4 separate regions of the Homo sapiens genome follow, and regions 2, 3 and 4 are each linked to region 1. Evidence: promoter capture Hi-C in 16 types of primary human blood cells and fetal thymus (Javierre and others, 2016). All regions are on one chromosome and are shown on one strand. Each heading gives the region's core, a stretch centred on a gene start or on the middle of the fragment in contact. The rest is flanking DNA. Distances are from core to core; before and after follow the strand shown.

Region 1 (3,776 bases), core at 221-2,720:
TTTTTTTTTCCAAACACCTCTGCTCTCCAGCTTCTTATATTTTCAAATATCAGGAGTGAAATGAAATCACCCTTAGTTTACCATTTTAAAGGAAGAGAGGATCAGAGAAGTATTGTGAGAGTTCTTAGGAAAATACCTACAAGGCTCAAGGTCAGACTGAAAACTCTTACGGGGATAAAAGAGAGATGGAAACCTATAGTACAATTTGATTTGCTTATTATATATACATACGTATGTACAGTAAACGTCCTCATGTTATCTATATGTATCTACTTTTATGCTACCAGCTACTATTTAAAGGTTATATAGTTTCTTTTACCCATTTATTAGGGTACTTTAAAATTTTTTTTTTTTTTTTTTTTTTTTGAGGCAGAGTCTCGCTCTGTCACCCAGGCTAGAGTGCAGTAGCACGATCTCAGCTCACTGCAACCTCCACCTCCTGGGTTCAAGCAATTTTCTTACCTCAGCCTCCCGAGTAGCTGGGATTACAGGCGCATGCCACCATGCCTGCTTAAATTTTTTTAGTAGAGACGGGGTTTCGCCATGTTGGCCAGGCTGGTCTTGAACTCTTGGCCTCAAGTGATCTGCCCACCTCGACCACCCAAAGTGCTGGGATTACAGGTGTGAGCCACTGTGCCCATCCAATTAGGGTGTTATTTAGAGATAATATTTCCTCTCCTACACATACTGAAAGGTGCTCAAGTATGGCCAAGGGCAAAATGAACTCACATTTACTATTATGTGCCAGGATTTATAATAGATACAAATACTTCATTAAAGTCTCATAACAACCTGTAAGATAGGTATTAGTATATTTATTTCCACATAAGGAAACAGATTGAGAGGCTAAATACCCTGCCCAATACATACAACTGTAAGTGGAGAAGCTGTATTCCAACCCATATTCTCCTCAAATATCCCTGTAGGGACAAGCAACTCTGAAGAGAAAAAAGCTGATAAAAGTCTATGTAACAGAAAGAATGACACATAAGGCTATGAAGCATTAGAACAAAGGAAAACGATAAAGTCACTTACCTAGTATGTCTTTGTGAGTGTAAAAGCGTGTCTTAAGTGGCTTGTATTCATGGATCCGTTTGAAGGTTTTTCCAAAAGGGGCTGGTGGAATTATTTTATTACAAACAGCACAGCAAACAAAGTTTTTGTAATCTGAATTTCTGATCATAGTTAAATTTCAGATGTCTTCTCCTACTTACAGTTAAAATAATCTTAGAATCAGAAAAAGTCGTTTCAAGAAAAGCTGAAAGTTTAAGAAAGCTGGAAGAGGTTCAGGGTTTTAGGATAATGCTAGAGGCTGGTAAGGATTAAATGGTTCAAGTGATTAGGCTGTGGTTATGTGTCTAACGTTAAAGAATGGTGCTAAAAGCCCCTGCCATAGAAGGTATGGGCACCAGATTTGGGAAGATTTAAGTAGTTGCTCCTTCCCAGACTCTAGCATTAAGTTGTTAACTTACTTGGCAACTGTTGCTAGGTAAGACAAGCTTTGCTCATAAAAGCAACTTCAAATAATGACAAAAGGGAGCATGATACAGCCATTCATTTTCCTGATACTTTCTATATTAGTTTCCTATTGCTGCTGTCTTACTCTGTTTTCTGTTGCTTATAATAGAATACCTGAAACTGGATAGCTTATAAAGAAAATGAAATTATTTCTTACAGTTTATGGAGGCTGAGAAGTCCAAGGTGGAGGAGTTGCATCAGGTAAGAATCTTCTTGGTGGTGGGAACTCACTGAAGATTCCTGAGGTGGTATAGGGTATGACATGGCCAGGGGCTGAGCTCACATGCTAGCTCAGGCCTCTCTTCCTCTTCTTATAAAACCACCAGTTCTCCTCCCATGATAATCCATCAATCCCTTAACCCATGAATGAATTCACTCACCCCTTAAAGGCCCCACTTCTCAATACTACCACGTTGGGGATTAAAGTTCAACATGAGTTTTGCAGGGGACAAATATTCAAACCATAGCACCACTGTGACAAACTACACAAACTTCATAGTTTAAATGTAACACAAATTTATCCTCTTGCATTTCTGGAGATCAGAAGTCTAAAATGAGTCTTAGGGGCTAAAATCAAGTTGTTAGAAGGGCTGGTTCCTTCTGCAGGCTTCAGAGGAGAATGTGTTTGCTTGCCTTTTCCAGCTTCTAAAGGCCATCCATATTCCTTGGGGTCATGGCCTTGCATCATATAGCCTTTTCCCCCAGTGCTTCCATAGTGACATTGTCTCTTCCTCTGATCTTCTGCCGTGCTTTAAAGACCTTGGTGATTATACCAGCCCCATCTAGATAATCCAGGATAATCTCCCCATCTCAAAATCCTAAACTTACCCATATCCGTAAAGTCCCATATTTACAGGTTCCAGAGATTAGGATCTGGACATTTTTGCAGGGAAGGAGAGCATTAGTCAGCCTACCACACTTTGTTTTAAATTAGTTTTTAAAGAATTAATTTCTTTTAAGGCCAGCAATGGAGGTAGCTTAATTTCTTTTAGGTTTTTAATAAACATGATGTGTTGGTGCCATGGTAATAAAACTGGGAAATATCATGGTATCTTGAAGAAGAAATTACTTTCATTAAGGCAGCATTCAAAATTACTAAGCCTGGTTTTAAAAATCACATGGTTAACTAATTTGTTCCTATAATTTTAGATAAACAGCCATAGAAATTCCACCTATCGCAAAAATCTGTGCAACTGATTGTACCAAGTAACTGAATTTATAAAATTGCCTGACAATGTCATATGCTGCATCTACTTGGCAGGACTATTTTATAATAAGTGAGTGCCATCAGTGAAATTAATTTCAACAACAGGACTCCCATAGGGCCCTGAGCTAAGTGTACCACAAGTTACTCTATAATTTATATTAACACATACGGCCTGATAACTGGCTGAAGACCTTAAGTAACTATCAAATTGTGCCAGATTTGACTTCAAGAAAAGGGTTAACTGGGACTTGGAGAGGAATTAAAAACAAAGAGATGAATTAGTATGAAGAATGAGGATTACTGCATCCACACAGTTAATTATCTGGATTGAGAACTGAGGCTACTTGTGCCAATAACTTTCCTATCTGTTACTAGAAATTCTTGCCCAGATGGAAGGATAACTAACTGGCCTTGATTTGCCTGGGACTGTCCCTGTTTTAAAACTGAAAGTCCTGAACTTCCTTAGTGTCTGGCAAATTGGAAGAGTTGGGCCTCCTATGGAAGATAAGGCTGTAAAACCAATAAATACTTTCAGTGTTTGCCTTAGGAAATCCTTGAAAAACAATTTATCAATTGGACAGCTTGCTGATCTAGGCAAACAGCTCTTCCATCAGAAGATTAGACTACTCCCCTGGGCAAAGAGTTCACTTAACATTTATTGAACAATAGTTTACTAATCAAGACTTGCTTCAAGATCTAATCTGTTCTGTCAGGTACCTTGCCCATTCTCAACCAGATTCCTGCATTGAAAGACCCTTCTTTAATCACTTGAACTCAGACTTCCAAAAGACTTTAATATCTTCCCCTGACCATCCCATTCTTAAATACAGCTAACTTTGTAAAAGTGGTATTTCCCTTTAGTGCAGTAGATTTAATAAGCTTAGTTTTGTTTGATCATCAGGTTGTTCTGATGGTCTTGTGAGGGAGCTGGCAGTTAACAGTCCTTTACATAATTCTGTTTTAAAGTACAGGAGTGTTTCTCTACTTAAGATCTAAACTTCTTATTTTTAAGGGCTAATGTGGCTGCTTTATTATTATGTGCACATTTACA
Region 2 (3,760 bases), core at 745-3,244, 1.5 Mb before region 1:
GTTTATTTCCTTTTGTAACTTGGTATACTTTTATGTATTAATCTCTCTAAAACTTCATTTTGCTGTAGTTTACTGTAGAGTAAAATTCATACTTTGTCACTACTTGAGAAAGAATAAAACTTTTGAATATTTTTTCCATGTTAAATTTTTGAAATGCACTGAAGAACTTTTACCAACTTAATGGTCGAATCATATATTTGAAGTAAGTTGTATTTTACTCTATAGCAGGTTTTCTCATTCTCAACCACTGATGTGTTGGGCCAGATAATTCTTTGCTGTGGGAGCTGTCTTGTGCATGGTAGGATGTTTAGCAGCATCTGTGGTCTCTACTCACTAGATGCCAGGAGTATAGATGCCAGGAGCATGCTCCCTATTCCCATTTGTGACAACCAAAAATATAGTCTGACATTGCCCAGTTTCCTCAGAGAACATAATTGGCCCTACTTGATAACCCATGTTCTGTAGGACGGTGTTTTTCAAAATGTGGCCTGTAGAGGAGGATTAGCACCACCCAGGAAGTTTCACAGATGCAGCTCAGCCCCACACCTATTGAGTAGAAACTCTGGGGATGGAGTTTAGCGGTTTGTGTTTTGACAAGTTCTCCAAGTGATTCTAATGCATGTTCAAGTATGAGAGCTACTTACTCTATAGGAAAGAGTTTATTTCATGTGCAACCACCTCATCATATGCTGCTTTTTTTCTTCACCAACTCTTCTTTTAGTAATTAGAGTATAAGCTAGTTGAGAATTTATATATGGAGACATCAGACTGGGTGCCTGGGGTCAAAGAAAGGGAACTAATAATTTGAACACAGTGTATTAAATACTGTACAGGTTGAGTATCTCTAATTCAAAGACTGATATGCTATAAAATTTATAATGTTTTGAGCACCAGCATGATGCTCAAAGGAAATGCTCGTTGGAGCATTTTGGATTTTTGTATTAGGGATGCTCAACTGTTAAGTATATATAATGCAGATATTCCCCAATCTGAAAAAAATCAGAATCCAAACCACTTCTGGTCCTAAGCATTTCAGAGAAGGCATATTCAACCTATGCATGTAAAGCATTATATCTTTACGTGTGTAATAAATCTCTGCTAAAATGCAAATTTAGAGACAATGTGATATGTGATTGGCATCTGTCTGTCTTCTAGCCCCCCTTGCCAAACAAAGAACAGAAATATCTTCTGTGGTTAAGGGAGGAGGAGAGGGAGGAGGACATGGAGGAGCACTAGAGGTTAGGGACGGAAATGGAAGAAAATACTATTTTAGGAAAATTAAAGTTGAATCTTTTAGTTCTAATATATTCCAGTCTCCCTAGACTGAAAGAAGCAAAGTCTAAATATAACAATAAATTCAGAAAATTTCAGTGTGTGAAACTCATGGTTCAGATCTGTACATATATGGCATATGTAGGAAAAATGGCCTGACAAATAAGTGAGTCTCTTTCTTGGATGTCTAGTATAGGCAGTTGATTTGTCATTCCGTTCCCTTTCTAGTAACCATACTTTTTTTTTTTTTTTTTTTTTTTGAGATGGAGTTTTGCTCTTGTTGCCCAAGCTGAAGTGCAATGGCGCAATGTTGGCTCACTGCAACCTCTGCCTTCTGGGCTCAAGGGATTCTCCTGCCTCAGCCTCCTGAGTAGCTGGGATTGCAGGTGCGCACCACCATGCCCGGCTAATTTTTTGTATTTTTAGTAGAAACGGAGTTTCACCATGTTAGCCAGGCTGGTATTGAACTCCTGATCTCAGGTGATCCGCCTACCTTGGCCTCCCAAAGTGCTGGGATTACAGGTGTGAGCCACCGCGCCGGGCCGTAACCACACTTTTTATTACAATGACTTTGTAATTGATATCTGGTATTAAGTCAAGTCTCCCTGTTCGCCAGCATTACCTTAAATATTTGTTGACAATTGGTTTAACGTGAAAGTTTCAGAATCAATTTGTCATGCTACCCAGAAATTTTTGTTAGGAGTTTAATTGGAACATCTTTGAATTTAGATTAACGTGGAGAAAATTGATGTGTTTGCAATGTTAAATCACTTTCTCAATGAATGCTATGGCTTTTTTTTTTCAGGTCTTTTTCTGTTCTGTAACTGAGTTTAAGTTTTTTATTATTGTTATGGTAACTTCTAAATATTTGTCATTTTCTGCTTTTGTGGTAAATTGTGTCTTTTTTTATTGCTACTTCTAGTACACTGCCACATTATTGATTTATTTTATTGATTCAACAATCCTGTTGAATTCTGTTAGTTCTCATCATTGTCTAATTTTACACATTGACCAGGACCTCTAGTATTGAATTAAGTATTAGTTCTAGTTAGATAAGGGAGAAGACATTTATACCTTCTTCTCAACCTCAAAGGGAATGTAACTAAATTTTCTCCATTAAGTATGTTTGTGGTAGATTTCTGTTAGATATCCTTTATTGTGTTAAGAAATTTCTGATTCTGTTCTTCCAATAATTCTTTTTAAAATCATAAACAGGTTTTGGGCTTTAACACCTTTTAAAGCATTAATTTTAAGGCAGTAATGCCTCTTCGGTATCTACTAAGGTTATCATGTCATTTTCATTTTTACACCATTTATGTAGTAAATTACACTGATTTTTCTCATGTTGACCCATCCTTGCATTCCTGGGATAAATGCTACTTGATCATGATATATATAATTTTTTAAGCATACTTTTGGATCTAGGTATAATTGCTTCTTGAGGATTTCTGCCACCTTATTTCTTACAGTTCATTTTTCTCTCTTTTTTTTTTTTTGAGACAGGGTCTCACTTTGTTGCCCAGGCTGGTGTGCAGTGGCACAAACATGGCTTACTGCAGCCTCGACCTCCTGGGTTCAAGCAATCCTCGCACTTCAGGTCCCCAAGTAGCTGGGACTATAGGCGCGCACCACCACGCCTTGCTAATTTTTGTATTTTTCGTAGATACGGGGTTTTGCCTTGTTGCCGAGGCTGGTCTAAAGCTCCTGAGCTCAAGCAATCCGCCTGCCTCAGCCTCGCAAAGTGCTGGGATTACAGGTATGAGCCACTGTACCCGGCCAATTTTTCTCATTTTTTATATTCAGAATAATGAAGGTAATATTTTTTATTGTTGAAAAAATTATGTAAGTTGCACATAATCCATGGTAATGCCTATCCATGATTTAAAAAAACCAATTAAATGAGTGATTTGTGCTGAAAAATAGAACAGTCTCTTACCAAACAGTCTCTTACCTTTTTCTGCACTCTGAGTACTACTCCTAGGAGGCAATTATTTTCCTCTTTTTTTTTTTTTTTTTTTTGGCTTTTGCTTCTACAGTTCTACACAGTCTATGCTGTTCTTTTTTGGTTTTGTATTTTATACATAATCTGCTTACTTTGTACTGTGGAAGAATAGGATTGAGCCCTCTAATTCCACTAACCCCCTCCACACCCCTTTCTCCTTCTGTCATTCTATTGTAATTACATCACATATTTGGTCAAATTAATATTCAATTTTTATATTTTTATGGTGACATAAATATTGTTCCTATCTGGGTCAAATAGTATACAATTGTATTTTCTTTTTTTAGAAAAGTCTTGTCATCTAGCATTAGGAATATTTTTGGTTATTATAATTATTAATATTTCTTTCTTTAAACTCTCCAAAAGAACTGTTTACTTTTTATCAATGCAGTCAAATATATAAGGTCCATTTTTCATTTGAAGGCATTCTTTCTGAAGCCTTCCATTCTTTAGTCCTGCTGCATAGCCTTTTCTTCTTAGAGTTTC
Region 3 (3,515 bases), core at 424-2,923, 1.5 Mb before region 1:
TGCATTCTGGTGTGGCGTCTGAGGTTACCATGGAACTTTTTAGGGCAGCATTTCCAGTTGCGCTACCATCATAGGAAACTTTTATTAAAAAAAAATTCAGAGATTCAAATTCATTAAGCCTGGATTGGTTCTGAGAAAATGCATTTTTGAAAAGCACCCCGATTACTTGTGATTTTTAACCTGATTTGGGAGCCGCTATCTGTAGTGCCTCATGGAACAAAATTTAAAAATCAGTGACCCAATTCAAAGTAGTATTTAGCCAGCTATTGAGTTAAGAACATATCTGAGAATTTCTCTGTTAGTTGGTGGAGACCCACATAAAATGCTTATTATACAGCACTCAATGCATATTAGTTATTGTTGTTATAACTGAAGACTGTTTTGAAAACCATTATTACATGAGAACCAACATTGATTTCCCAGAGTTCACTCAGAATTCTTTTAGGGTGTGGTATAGTTATTGCACAAGAAGAAAATTAAGCAAAGGCAAAACAATCTAACATTTTAAAACCAAATCTTTGAAATACCCATTGGTTAGTAGTCACATCTTTAGGATTTACTAAAGGATAAAAAGGTCCCTTAAATAGCAGTTTCTTTAATCAAATCCTAAGTATGAGAGTTACTACTAGTTAATAGAGATACTGTCTTTGAAATGGTATTTAAAAATAAAAACCAACCAAATTTATTACCTATTACCAAAATCTGCTAGAGAACTCTTAGAGCTGAGCAGATACAGATAAAACTTTGATTGCAAACATAGGTGCAACCCTAACTCAGAATTTTCAGTTGGCCAGGTTCTGGGGGCAGCAAACATGTGAAGCTTTGAAAGATTAAAACAAATGAATTTTTCGTTAATATTTTCAAACATTTTTTCCCCTATATAGAGCTGGGCTACTGGACCCAAACAAATGAGAAACAAGGAATACAGGATAAAGAGATTGAATTTGTCTCTTTGTTCATTCATGTAGTTAACAAATATTTATTGAACATTTACCATATGCCAGAGATTGTGCTAGCTATGATAGGCTTAGCAGGTAATTAGAACTAAACTATATGATGATGATGATGATTGTTTTTTGAGACAGGGTCTCACTGTTTTGCCTAGGCTGGAGTGGAGTGGCACACTCATGCCTCACTGCAGCCTCGACCTCCCACCTCAGCCTCCAGAGTAGCTGGGACTATAGGCGCGTGCCGCCACACCCAACTAATTTTTGTCTTTTTTTTGTTGTTGAGATAGGGTTTCCCCGTGTTGTCCAGGCTGGTCTCAAACTCCTGGGCTAAAGTGATCTGCCTGCCTTGGCCTCCCAAAGTGTTGGGATTACAGGCCTGAGCCACAATACTCAGGCATGATTATTTTTGTATGCTGCTTTTTATCTTAACATGAGTATATTTCATTGTTATAACATGTATTTTTAAAATGACTTAATTGCTGCCAAGAAAAAATAGTTCACCCTCGATTATAGGGGCATTTAGACTCCAGTTTTTTTGTTGCTATAAATAACTGTACTGATCTTCTTATACCCATCTTTGCATAAATTTTGACAAAAATAGTATTACTTAGATATAGTATGGAAACCTTTGAAGTCCTTGATATACCTTGCTAGAGGTTGTAGTGATACACTCCGAACAGCAGTGCTTGAGTGTACATCCTTGGCAATTTGGGGTAGTTTCACTTAATATAAGTAATGTAGCCAAGTTGACAATTGGAAAATGAATTTTTTTCTTAAAAGATTTTATTGATGTAAAAATTAAAGGAAAATGAATTTTAAAATTGCTTTGATTAGCAGTTTTTTTTGAATACTAGTGTGGTTGCACAAGTTCATTCTGTATTTTGGCTATAGCAACAGTTATAACAAGTAATACTTGTTGAACACTTAATGTGTATTAGGCATTGTTCTGAGTACTTTACATAGAACATTTATCTCATTTAATACTCACAACGCTGTAAGATAGCATTGTGAATAAGTAGCTTTTTCAAGGTCACAGACACAGTTATTGTAAGTAGCAGGACTGAGATTTGAATGCAAGTGATCTGGCCCCAGAGCCCAGAATCCTTTTTGCCAGGTCATGTCCTCATTATTTTTTCAATATTTTGATAGTTATTTTTACTGTTTTATGCTAATAGATGAATTTTTCTGTCTTAAAATATATTTTTTCTGATAATGTCTTCTGTCTTCCTCATAAAACATTAAAAAGAAATTAAAAAGTTCTCCCTGTGAGAACTTTTATCCCACCCCTTGGGATAATCAATATTAAGAGTTGGATGTTTGGTTTCTCGAGACATTATACCTTCATCTTCTTACCTGCTGTTTTCTTTCCTTACTTTCTGATCCTCCATATAATGGGATATGATATAGGCTGTTCTCTTATAAATAAATAATAGAAAAACTCTATTATTTTTTTTTCAAATTGCTTTGTGATGGTAATTCAAATTGCATTGCTCCTTTCACTTAATGGGATAATAAATATATTTGCAGACAATATTTACTGCTTTAATAGATAACTGTTAAGCTACTGTAAGCTTTAGAAGGTCTCAAAGACAATACAAGACACTAGAGGAAAGTAAAAGTACAATTCCTACTCTCAGCAGGAAAATGAAGTACAATTTAAGATGTAGTAAGAGATATAACAAAACTATGTATAGTACCAGACAACTAAGTAAGAGATACTAAAGAGCTAATAAAGAGCATTACTTGATACTGTATATGAAATATGACTGCTTGTTTTGATTTTAAGAGTGTGATATTGGGTGTTCATAGATGGATTTTTAAATTTTATATAGGAAATAAGTAAGATATATTTAGTATTGAATATTGATATTTAGTATTGAGTAGTGCTGCTGACCAGATGGAAGAACATTTGCTTTGACCCATCTCAGCAGTAGAGCTTATCTGTTAGATGAGGTGTTAACTGGATTTTCATATTTTTTTTTTTTACGATTCTGTGATACTTTCTTAACTCATTATTTGCTCACATACTCTTATTCATTATGTGTGATTATGGAAGTGGCAAATGCTGGCTTGGATAAAAAAGGGGAAAAAACTTTATCCTCTTTGTGAATCTGTGAAAAATTGTTTGAAATAATTATAGTTGATTTTTCTAGAATGCATGCTTTATACAAAAGAAAACTGAAAGTAATCAGCGAGTCAGGGACAAATGTAAAATAAAACTTTTGGGAAAATTCTTTTGATCTTTTCTTTTCATGAAGATGGATTACTTTATAAAAATTAAAATGTTGTTTACATGCCTCTGTGATAGGTAGTGCTGCCCAGAATACGTTAAGTGGCTTTTAAATTTTATTCCATATCAAGGTAAATCTTTAGAGCAATAAATGTGGCATACCCTGATGGAAGATCACTTAAAAGAATGCTGTATTTTACATATTTAACTTGTATTGCTACAGAGTTCTGAAAAGCATAACCTGTTACATAAATGGTAATTAATGCAAATGAGTATATCATTTGATTTTACACTTTGAAGTCTAATGAAGACACTGTACATTCTCATTATGAGAG
Region 4 (3,544 bases), core at 473-2,972, 1.5 Mb before region 1:
TACCTTTCTTTTTACTTATTTGTTGTGGAAGAAAATAGAGGAAGTTAAAAAAGAAGTTGATGCATGGTAGGAAAGATTAAGGAAGAAGAACAATAAATGGATGACAGACATTTACTAGGTGATTGGGGTTAACTTTTATAACCAGACTCAGTAGTTGTTAGATCTGTACTGATGCTCAGTATTTATTGGCTCTGTTAAATTAAAAATATTCAGCTTTTTCAACCCCATAGAAATGTTATTAAAATATTTCTGTGGTAATATTGTGGGAAAGTGCTTGGTTGAATGTGATCATATTTTCTATGTGTTAGTCCTTTTTATTATATGTTAAAAATATAAATAGTGTTTGTGTTTTTAGTAGTAACTTAGGTTAATTTGGCCTTTGCTTTTATTTTGCCCATTTCAGAAGTTAATGTAAATTTCTTAACTTTGCATAGGAAATCCACGTTGATAAATGAAGCTAGAGACTTTCTTTGTGTAAAACTTAAAAAGAACATCTCATGCTGTTAATACCATCAGAATTAGGATGCTTAATATTGAACTCTCTAAAAAGAAGTGTTCTTTTTTAATTAGCATAAGAAACAATTTTTTAAGGATATTGAAATTATCTGAGCACTCAATAAGTAAATATGTTACAAACCTCATCTATCTGGTTGAGCTTTCTTTTAAAAATACTCTTTTTTTCCTTTAGCTGTTGTACTTAATGATAAAAATGGTTTTAAACAGAAATGCCATTGGCTAGTACAGAGAAATAATGGTATAATAGTAGAGGGATGGTACTCTTTGATCCTTGGGCTTATGAAATTCCTAAATTTTGGTTATTTAAGGAAAGCAAAGTAGAAGACAGATAAGTACAAAAAGTGCTTCAAAATTAGGGACAAAAAGTAGGACTAGTGTCTGCTGGAAGGACTCAGGATTCTTCCAGATTTGACAAGAATGTATGTGGATGAAGTATTAATTGTTCTTTTTTTCTTTTCTCAAGTGGCTCAGATTGCCAGGTCTTTGCCAGAAGGTTGAACGTTGTAGCTTGTAGACTAACTTTTTTATTGCCTAATTACATTAACAGCTAGAATTGTTTTATAGATTTTTCTTAAGACTGATGCCAGTCCCTTTATGGACCTTAAAAGAACTGTAGCATACATCTAGACTATTTTTTTTAGGTTTAAAAATTTCCAGAAGGGTTCCTTATTTGTTTGATATTCTCTGTCTGCTTTACTTCGCTGTGATATTTCAAAATATGTAGTTCTGAGTTAAAAAATTTAGATTAAAAATTCCATGATGAGTAATATTTTGTTCTATTAGTATGTTAATATATCCAATGACTGTGGCTTAGCCACTTTGCCTACACTCTTACTCTGGTTTACAAAGATAGAGGTTTTGGTGTTTATCCCCTTAAAGTCCATACTTCATTCATAGTAACACAGCTCCTTTCCCCTTCTCTCCATTGGTGGTTGGTATAGTGTAGGCCTGTTCAAATTCTGTCTTTTACCACTTGATTTACATAAAATCTTTGTGCCTTATTTACTCATCTTTGAAATAAATACAGTACAGTCTATTTTTTCAGTGTTGTAAGGATTAGAGAGAATGTTTGCAAGATGCCAGACATTCTGCTTGGATCTCAATAAATGGTAGATAAATTATTATTACTGTTATGATTTGAGAAGTGCCTATAGAGTACATACGTATATTGAAGAAAACCATGTGCTGGATTTAGGAAAACTAGTGTACAATCTTAGGGGAGTTTATACAGCAGACCGTTTCTGTTAGATATATTGACTTGCTAAGATTTGTGAGAACAAACTAATTTATCTCTCAGTCTCTTCTTTGTAAATGAATTTGAACTCTAATAAAATATTTTTCTTTCCCTTATTTTTCTTATTTTTTTTTTAAAGGGCGCTATTTTCTTGGAAGGTGTTACTGTTAAAGGTGTAACTCAAGTAACAACACAACCAAAGTTAGGAGAGGTACAGCAGAAGTGTCATCAATTCTGTGGCTGGGAAGGGTAATAAATATTTTTAAATTTTTAAATAAAATTTGCTCTTATTTTACAACACTTAATACAAGCATTGACATATCTTCTTGGCTCCTTGAAGTTAGTATGTTTGCAATAGAATACTTTAAAGGTGTCAGATTTCGTTCAAGACAATCAATGCAATAACCAGACAGTTGAGTCAAAATTAGATGACTCACATATTTTCCTAAAGTAATAGAAAATTCTTGTTTTCACTGTCTAGTATTTGTTTCGTGTCTTTGACTCTACTGCTACTGATTAATGTTTGAGCTAGTCTCTCAATTTGATAAGAGGGAAGAGGTGAAATTTGGATCTGCCTCATTTTCCAGTTTTTCTGTAATCAGAAGTCTAGGAAAATCAGCTTTAAATATAAGCAGTGAATGCCATGACTTGAAAATATCTTTCAGACATTTCGTAGTGGATTCAGGAGAGCATACATTGCTCTTATCTGTTGCTCTCAGGTCTTGGCCTGTGGTCATTTCTGCTGATCATTGGTATCTGTGGCAGAGAACTGTAATACAGTTGAATGTAAGGAAAAAGGATTATTGTTAATTCCTAATATAAATTCCTAATGAAAAGAACTTTTATTACTGTTACATAAATACTAGATAAATCATCTAGAAGTAGTTTTAACTAAAATATGAAAACAATGAAGAAATAAGATCGGTTTTAATGTTGTGTTAAACCTTAATCTTGACCTACACCCTTGGTTTTAATGTTGTGTTAAGCCTTAATCTTGACCCATATTTCTCCTGTTTTGTCACTTCTGGGTATCTTTTGAGGAGAAAGTTGCCAACCTTGCAGTTATGTCAAGTTGGCAGTCTCACGTTGGGGAAATATGGGGTCTAGAATATCATGTAAAGTAATTAAGCCAAGATTTAAACTTCTTCCTGAAGTACAAGACTTGTAAACATACCTGCTTTACTATTTAGATCATATATACTAATATTTTAAAATTAGCTCAGTGATTATACCATAGCAGTGGTAATTTAGAACTCTGTTAACTTGCATTCTAAAATGTCAAGAAAATGATAATCTTTTATTAGTATTTTTGTGAAAGCGGATGTTATTCCAGCTGACATTAATCTCATCATAGGGAGAACATTGTGATAAATGTGTGATTCATTTGAGATTGGTTTAAGACATGTATTGCTTTGTATGGATACCAGCCACGATAGTAATACTGTGTTCTTCTTTAAGGTCTGGATTCCCTGGAGCACAGCCTGTTTCCATGGACAAGCAAAATATTAAACTTTTAGACCTGAAGCCATACAAAGTAAGCTGGAAAGCAGATGGTACTCGGTAAGTTAGACTTCTAAAAAAATTACACAAATAACCCTAATGCTTGAAGAATATTGTTTTATTGTTAGAAAAGTTTACACTCTTGAGAGTGTGAATTTCTAATGTGAATAGCAAAATAAATGTTTCAAAAATTATATATTTTTGGTTTTGCTAGTGTTCTAAGCTGTATAGCACAAGTTATCTCTCATTCTGCTAAATTTTTGGTTTCAGAGCTTAGCTAGTTTAACATAAATC

Evidence for each region. Contacts are between HindIII fragments. The CHiCAGO score rates a contact against its expected background, and 5 or more counts as called.
Region 2: a contact is called between a fragment that was not itself captured here and the fragment with the promoter of C6orf163 in region 1, in 2 of 17 cell types (monocytes and naive B cells). The highest score is 5.2, in monocytes.
Region 3: a fragment that was not itself captured here is called in contact with the fragment with the promoter of C6orf163 in region 1 in 1 of 17 cell types (total B cells); the score reaches 5.9 in total B cells.
Region 4: a fragment that was not itself captured here is called in contact with the fragment with the promoter of C6orf163 in region 1 in 1 of 17 cell types (naive B cells); the score reaches 6.1 in naive B cells.

Annotation. Positions count from the first base shown.
Region 1 is chr6:87,342,507-87,346,282 of GRCh38, reverse strand. It overlaps C6orf163 (chromosome 6 open reading frame 163), which reads right to left and starts at 1,470. Exons shown (of 5, transcript NM_001010868.3): 1 at 1,036-1,470. The coding sequence starts at 1,183. The HindIII fragment of the contact is 2,547 bases long and covers 1-1,501 here.
Region 2 is chr6:88,797,473-88,801,232 of GRCh38, reverse strand. The region is part of intron 12 of RNGTT (RNA guanylyltransferase and 5'-phosphatase); the gene reads left to right. Among named protein-coding and RNA genes, the nearest start is that of RNGTT, 160 kb to the left of the region's middle. The HindIII fragment of the contact is 4,929 bases long and covers 1-3,760 here.
Region 3 is chr6:88,874,078-88,877,592 of GRCh38, reverse strand. The region is part of intron 8 of RNGTT (RNA guanylyltransferase and 5'-phosphatase); the gene reads left to right. Among named protein-coding and RNA genes, the nearest start is that of RNGTT, 88 kb to the left of the region's middle. The HindIII fragment of the contact is 1,701 bases long and covers 823-2,523 here.
Region 4 is chr6:88,890,261-88,893,804 of GRCh38, reverse strand. It overlaps RNGTT (RNA guanylyltransferase and 5'-phosphatase), which reads left to right. Exons shown (of 16, transcript NM_003800.5): 7 at 1,890-1,999; 8 at 3,209-3,310. Among named protein-coding and RNA genes, the nearest start is that of RNGTT, 72 kb to the left of the region's middle. The HindIII fragment of the contact is 4,119 bases long and covers 1-3,544 here.